Linked DNA regions of Homo sapiens: region 2 is linked to region 1. Evidence: promoter capture Hi-C in 16 types of primary human blood cells and fetal thymus (Javierre and others, 2016). All regions are on one chromosome and are shown on one strand. Each heading gives the region's core, a stretch centred on a gene start or on the middle of the fragment in contact. The rest is flanking DNA. Distances are from core to core; before and after follow the strand shown. Region 1 holds the start of C1orf53 (chromosome 1 open reading frame 53). Region 2 overlaps NR5A2 (nuclear receptor subfamily 5 group A member 2).

Region 1 (3,371 bases), core at 454-2,953:
AACTTAATTTGTCCTCAGTAAATGAGCCTCACGTAATGGTGGCCACAGACAAAGATGAAGCAAGGGTGCTGACAGTTTGACTGGAGAGCAAGATGCTCAGTGATGCGCATCGGTACCCGGAGAAAGGTAAGAGAGCTATCTGCTTTGAGGCTGGAAGAAGGACCATAGTGAGGGGGCTCAGATTTGTCGAAAAAGAAAAACAAGCAGCTTGTTATTTACTGGGCTTACTTATGGTCACCTGGATAGTCATTTAACCTGTGATACTGACACTGATGAAACAAATGTGAATTTCCCGAGTGAGAAAAAGTTCCTTTCCTTCCCTAGACTGATTGAAAATTTCTTCACATGATACTGGTGTTTGCTCTAAGGAGAATGACACTTTTCTTTAATATCCACCATATCTATATTGCGAAGTATGAGAACAAATTATATACATTATTTTTAAAAGGAGAGCATAAACAAGAACAATCAAAAGCTGCCAGTCACTTCCTAATGAGTCTTTATTCAGTTTCAGCACTTGAATGGGTCAGACCGACAGTGGATTCTCAGGGCCTACTAACTGTCATTATTTAAATAAGTCAATTTTAGGCAACCTCCGGGATTTTCTTCTCTACCCCTTTGGCTCAAGTCATACCATATAATATTAGTCCCATCAAGTACTGGAGGCACACACACATAGCTTATTAAATGGGTTCATTTCATACTGCTTTTCTATCTTTATTATAGTCAGTTTCTCTTTTTTTCTCACTGTTTCTTTTGTAAAGGTAACCATGCTGCCTTTAAACTCACGCAGACTGTGTTAGAAGGCGTAAAGGGAGAGAAGTTTAGATACTGGTACTAACAGACAATTGTCAAATCCGCAAAACAGGAGAAAACAGCTGAGTGTCTACAAATGCCAGATTGTAGTTCCCTCTGCTCCGTTAAGAGTTAAGAGAAAGGACAAGAAGGCAATGGAAAAATTAAAATAAATGTGTCAATGTCTTTTTTTCTCACTCTAAGAATCACTGGATTGCTAAGTGTTCAACTGACAATGCAGAAAAACACACAACACATTTTTGTTGTGACTTCTCAGTCCCTCCACCTTCTCCATCAATTCCTTAACACCCCCTTCCGCAACACACACACACATACACCACAAAAGAGTGGTAGTGGGTCCCACACTGCGACCGGAGTTTAGCTCGGACGCTGATCGGAAAACAAATCACACTCATACTCAAGACAGACACAGGTTTCCCGCGAAAATGTCGGGGCTGGAAGTTCGTGTGCGTGCGCGAATGTCGCCCGAGGCAGGACCGCACCGGTATCCAGCAACCTTTGCCTCTGCCGGGCGGCCTCCGGGTCCGGAGAGGCCCGGGATGCGCAGGCGCGCCGAGCCCGGGGCGGCCGCGGCGGGGCGGGGCGGGCAGGAGGGAGTCTCACCGCGCAGGCGGCAGCGTGCAGCTCCGCGATCTGTCGCTCCGCCGCGGTTAACTCTTCGCTCACCGAAGGCCTCGCCGCTCTCTCCGGCCTACCGGGCGTGCTGGGCGCGGAGCCGCCGCAGTTTCCCTCGTTAGCAGGGCAGAGGGTTAAGCTGAGCTGCTGTCGGAACCCAGCTCTTACCCAGAGAGGTGCTGGCGGCGGGGCGGCGGAAGGTTGCCTGCAGAGCGCGGCACCCGTCCGTGCCCAGATCTGCCTGGCCGCCATGCCGCCGCCGGCCTTGGGAGGCGGAGCACCCGGCGCTGGGGCCCGGAGGGGCGACCAACGCGGGCCTGGGCGCGGCGAGCCGGTCTTGGGCAGCTCGTGGCCATCGCTGCGTGGGGTCGGTTCGCGCTGCCGTGGCAGCAGGTGGAGGCGGACGGACTGAGCCTTCTGCCTTCACCAGCGGGCCCGCTGCGGAAATAAAATGGGCTTTTAAGGCAGCTAACGAGGCTCTGATGAGCTGCCTGGACGGGGAAGAGCCTGGTGTTTCCACATCTTTGGACTTAAATTCTAAGCTCTTCCTTCTTCCCCCGCGCCCACCCAGCTGAAAGGTGGACATTTTTTGTTATGTCAGACTGGACTTGGGATCATTCAGTATAATCTCCACAACTGTTAAGATCCCAGAAAGTGATCAAAAGACCCGAGGTTTGTGAATAACCACCTTGGGCCTATCCAGAAAAGGCTGAGTGTTTCCAGGTAGTATGTGATAGGAATAAAGGTGGAAGCGGAGCCTTCTTTGCTTGGTTCTTTGGCCCACCCTAGAATAAGGGCCAAAAGTAAAATCGCACACTGAATAAGAAAAGGTGTTGTGTTCATGTTGCTGAATATTTACAAAATCCAACCTAAAACTATTATCTCCTTTCTGATGGATGAAAGTGATCTTGATACCGTCACATAATTGTATTTGAGAAAATTACGGCAAGCCCGGGAAGTAATTTCAGGTGTTAGGATTAAATTAACACCACCCCATCTTCCTACCCCCCGTCTGGGTTTCAAGAAAAGGAGGGCTGAAGAGTACCAATTTTGTTAGTGCTCTTCAATACTGGGAGGGCAGGAATTGATCTTTGAGGACAAAAGTAGATTATTCAGTTGTACAGGAGAAAGGCGACTAAGCCACTATAGACCATCACTACGTGTTTTTTGGTTTCTGTGTTTACCATGCAACCCTGTAGTCATATTTTCATTTTCTTAAATCTTAGTAGGAGGTGATTGAAACAACCCTATTGGTTCATTAAAAATCTCAGTGAATTAATAAATTGGTATTATATTTTGCAAATTGATTTTCTTTTTGTTGGAATAAAAAATTAGGATCTGGAGACTGTTAAGTAATCTGAGGAGAGTTTAAAATCTGGAAAGCGAAGGAGGGACCCTAGAGAAAGCTGTGGAAGAGTGGGACCAAACATGAGATCACCAAAAATGAACAACTGTGATGTTATTCACATTCACCATAAGTCAGGTCCCCGCACCAACAAAAACCTGAGATTGATTTACTGCATTGTCTTTAAAATTAAGGATCAGGATCCACTAATAGGCCATGACATCGATTCAAAGGGTAGAGACAGCATTTTACAGGAATGAAATAGACTAGACCAGATTTAAATAGAAAATAAATGGAACTATCTTATATAGATACATATCTTATATAGATACATATGTACAAGAGTACATATTGTTACATGAAACTTCTTTTGGTGAAGATGAGAGGGTGGAAGTGGACTGTACAGGGCTTGAACAACAGAGATCTTGTAGGTAACAGAATAATTCTGTATCTTGACTATGATGATTACAAAAATTTACATGTGATAAGATGCCATGGAGCTATACATACATTGTTTTAATGTCAAATCCCTGGTTTTCATATTGTAAGCATGTAAGGTGTAAGCATTGGGGGAACCTGGGTGAAGTAAACACAG
Region 2 (3,371 bases), core at 230-2,729, 2.1 Mb before region 1:
TTCAAAGCCTTAATTAAGAAGAACCTCCTCCCACAGCAATGCGAAGAATTTATGGGTGCACTTATGATACAGCACCTTTCCCAGACCCTAGCATGGCAAGGATGCAGGACTCCAAACGCTTGGTCCTAAGAGGAAACCTCCAACCCCTAGTGTGTGGTGGTGATTTCACCTCTGCTTGGTGAAGCCGGGGGAAGTTAGGAGAGTTGAAAGAAGTTGAAAGAGGGTCTGACAGGACCTTGAAATTGTAGTGTATCAAGAAACCCTGCCTTGGCTTGAGGCTGAACCTGAGGCTGAGGCTGACCTAGTGAGACAAGCTTTGTGACCATGCTCATAACGCCAGCTGCCAGGGCCAGAAGGGACTTGCTTAGGCCACACTAGCGACTTCTTGGTCCATGCCAGTCTACCCTCCCACCACATCCCCGAAAGATGGAGAGTGGTGGTGGCAAAAGGCCAGCTGGCACTCATTTATCTCTCCACAGGTGGACTTTCCAGGAAAGAAAAATCCTCACAAAATGGGAGGGGTGCGGGAGGGAACGGTGGCTGGGGACTGGGTTTTAAAAATCCATGCTTTAAAAAATTAACGCAGGAGCTTGTATCACGGAGGGAAGCCCTTTCCTTTGCTTTGAAAGTCTAGTCCAGGCCAAAACCTAAGCGTAGCAGCGAAATGGAGGGGGACTGAAAGAGCAGAAAGTCTCGAGCGAGAGAAAACGACCTTTCCTAAGAACCAAGGGAACTCCTAGCTCAGAAGCCTAAGCCCTCGGCGCTCCAGGCCTTTAACTCGACGATGGGAAACGCTCCCTGGGGGCAGCCCTATTTCAGATCCCCTGGAAGGATGTCAAGATCCCCGCCAGCAGTGGACAAGGCAAGGAATCTTCCACTGGAATTGATTCTTGCCAGAGACCCGAGGGCACACAAACCTTCCTCAGGTAGCTCTGCAAGGGATTTAAGGAAGCAGCTGGGTCTCCATCCAAGAGGCAGAGGCAGGGGCGGCGGCACCAGGCTTCCAGCGTCAAGCTCATTACTGCCCTCCAAGTGCACCCTTTCTTCTCCCTCAGAACTCCCTCCTCCCTCTGAGCACTCACTCTGGTCCTTTGACCCTTCAATTCTGCTGGGCAAGGGACCCCTGTTGAAGCCGGGGACCCGCTAGCTCAGTGACCTTGGACGGGTCTGGGCGTCCCCCAGAAAGCCCTCTCCGAAAGGAAGCTGTGGGAGGAGGAACCCGAGTTTGCGGTGTCTAAGATGGGTTATTTGAGAATGGTTCTGGGTTCCCGAGGCCACAATATGAAGACAGCCAAGTGGCTGCGGGAAGGGAAAGCAGTTGAGATGTAAGTAGGTGGAACCGGGTCTGTGTGGTCTAAACGCCGGCGCCAGCGGTGGTCTGCACTGACCCATAAATACACCTACCGCGGGTGGACAGACGCATCTCATCCTCCGCCGGGGACATCTTAGCAACTGCCACTGTACCTCTTAGTGTAAGCACACTTAGGAACCCACCCCGTACTTACCGCTGCGGGAATTGTAACTGGTGGCGGAGACCAGAGACTAGAACCCGGGAGGCCTGGGAGTCTGTGGTGAGACCGGGGGACAGCTCTGCTCAACTACCTTGCGCGTTCTCAATTTCTTTGCACTCCCTCTGCCAACTTCTGGCAAACTTCTCTCCTTTTCCCCCACCTCCCCTCCACCTCCTTCTTTCCGACGAGACAGGTCTCCAGGGCTCGCCCTTCCCGGTTCTGACTTTGTCTTAAAGTGTTGATTGACGGTTGCAATTACGAAGGATGATGGCTCGGGGAGGCTCCCGCAGCCTTGATGAGCCGGAGAAGCGCAGTCCTAGCATATTTTATCCACGCTCGGCGTTACGGGGCCGTGCGCGCCCCATTCACCCAGCTGGCTGGAGCTGAGGAGGCCTCGCACTCCCCACTCGCGAGGATGCAACTGCCTGCCTTCCTCCCCACCCCCTCCTTCCCGTGGTTCAGCACCGCATTTCGGAGCGTGAGCTGGGAGCAATCAACTCGACCTGACCTGGAAAGTGTTGGTCAGCCCCCGCGCGCTTGACCCGTGCGGGCTGCAGCGGGAAAAAATATCAGGATTTTCAGGAGCGGTTCAAGTTTCCTGGGCTCGCAAAAGGTGTGGCAGACACATCTTTCCCCGCGCGCCTGGGTAGATGACCCACCCAAACTTGCACAAAACTTGCAATACCTTCCTCCTTCGAAACAATTTCTCCCGTCTTCTCTTCCATTCCCACTTTTTGGTGCTTTTTAAGAAACCAGGACAATTACTTTTTTCGTCCCACATATCTACCTTTTAGACCCCGAAAGAAGTCTAGATTTTTTTCAGATCTCCATTACTAGGCCAGGATAGCCCGAGGGGGAAGAGGAGCAAGTTTTTCAGCCTACGGGAGCTCCGGGTCTGCCTAATTTTTCCGCCCCTCCCAGCCGAAAAACCCATCAGAAGCTGCTTTTGCCTTTCTCTGAAAAGTTTAGCCAGAACTCCAGTTTCATTCCCTGGCTCAGAGGGCTGGGCTACCCGCCCACGCCCGTAGGCTCCACCCGCCCTCATCCCGAGCGCTTTGTATTAGAAACAGACGGGTTAAATTTCAGTACAGCCATAGGAATTACCAGGGAGCGTCGTGTTGATCGAAGCTTTAAAAAAGCAAACCTGAATAGGTGAGCAGTCGTGCCTTGTTTAAAAAAAAAAAAAAAAAAAAAAAAAAAAAAAGCCTTTCTGCTGCACGTGTGAATAACTACTTAAGACATCAACATCAGCCCCTAGAGCAGGATGGCGATTGATTCACAATCACTATGAGAGTATCTCGATCTGGCGTGGCGCGGTTTTTATCGCGGAGGAAAACGAAAGCCGAAGCAATTATCTGGGTAATCCAACCTACCCCCCACCCACCCCCCCGGGCAACCTCCCACCCTTGCCCCAGAGGAAAGGAGGGCTTTTTGGAGAGTTTGGCCTGGATATCGGAATCTACGGCTCTTTGTATAAAAAGAGTTCACTGAAGAACCTTTTCACTTATTTTCTTTACAGCACGTTGTCCCAACCCAGGGGTCCTGGAGTGCCCCGCCAGGGTATAGTCGGTGCCCTTAGAAGAATGTAACAGGGAGATCCGGTCTTAAGAAAGGAGTGGGGCAGGGGAAATAATCTCGGGTAGGTGGTCTAATCTATCTCTTCCTCTCTGTAATTGAAATGGAAATTTGAGCCAGTTCCAGTTCAAAACTATTGGGACTCCATCCATTGGAATCAATTCTGTCCAGCCTCGGGGCCAACAGAACGACGATCCCGGCGCTAGTAGGCCACAAAGCACCTTGTGAAACTAGCTGAACACTTGCAGTTGCATCCTTTACACCCTCTCCTCCGCTTCAACCTGG

The links. Contacts are between HindIII fragments. The CHiCAGO score rates a contact against its expected background, and 5 or more counts as called.
Region 2: a fragment that was not itself captured here is called in contact with the fragment with the promoter of C1orf53 in region 1 in 1 of 17 cell types (total B cells); the score reaches 12.9 in total B cells.

Annotation. Positions count from the first base shown.
Region 1 is chr1:197,900,962-197,904,332 of GRCh38, reverse strand. It overlaps C1orf53 (chromosome 1 open reading frame 53), which reads right to left and starts at 1,703. Exons shown (of 3, transcript NM_001024594.3): 1 at 1,420-1,703. The coding sequence starts at 1,683. RefSeq lists silencers at 1,249-1,498, 1,669-1,818. The HindIII fragment of the contact is 7,446 bases long and covers 1-3,371 here.
Region 2 is chr1:200,034,128-200,037,498 of GRCh38, reverse strand. All of the region lies in intron 1 of NR5A2 (nuclear receptor subfamily 5 group A member 2), which reads right to left. Among named protein-coding and RNA genes, the nearest start is that of NR5A2, 8.1 kb to the right of the region's middle. RefSeq lists an enhancer at 674-1,574. The HindIII fragment of the contact is 2,325 bases long and covers 317-2,641 here.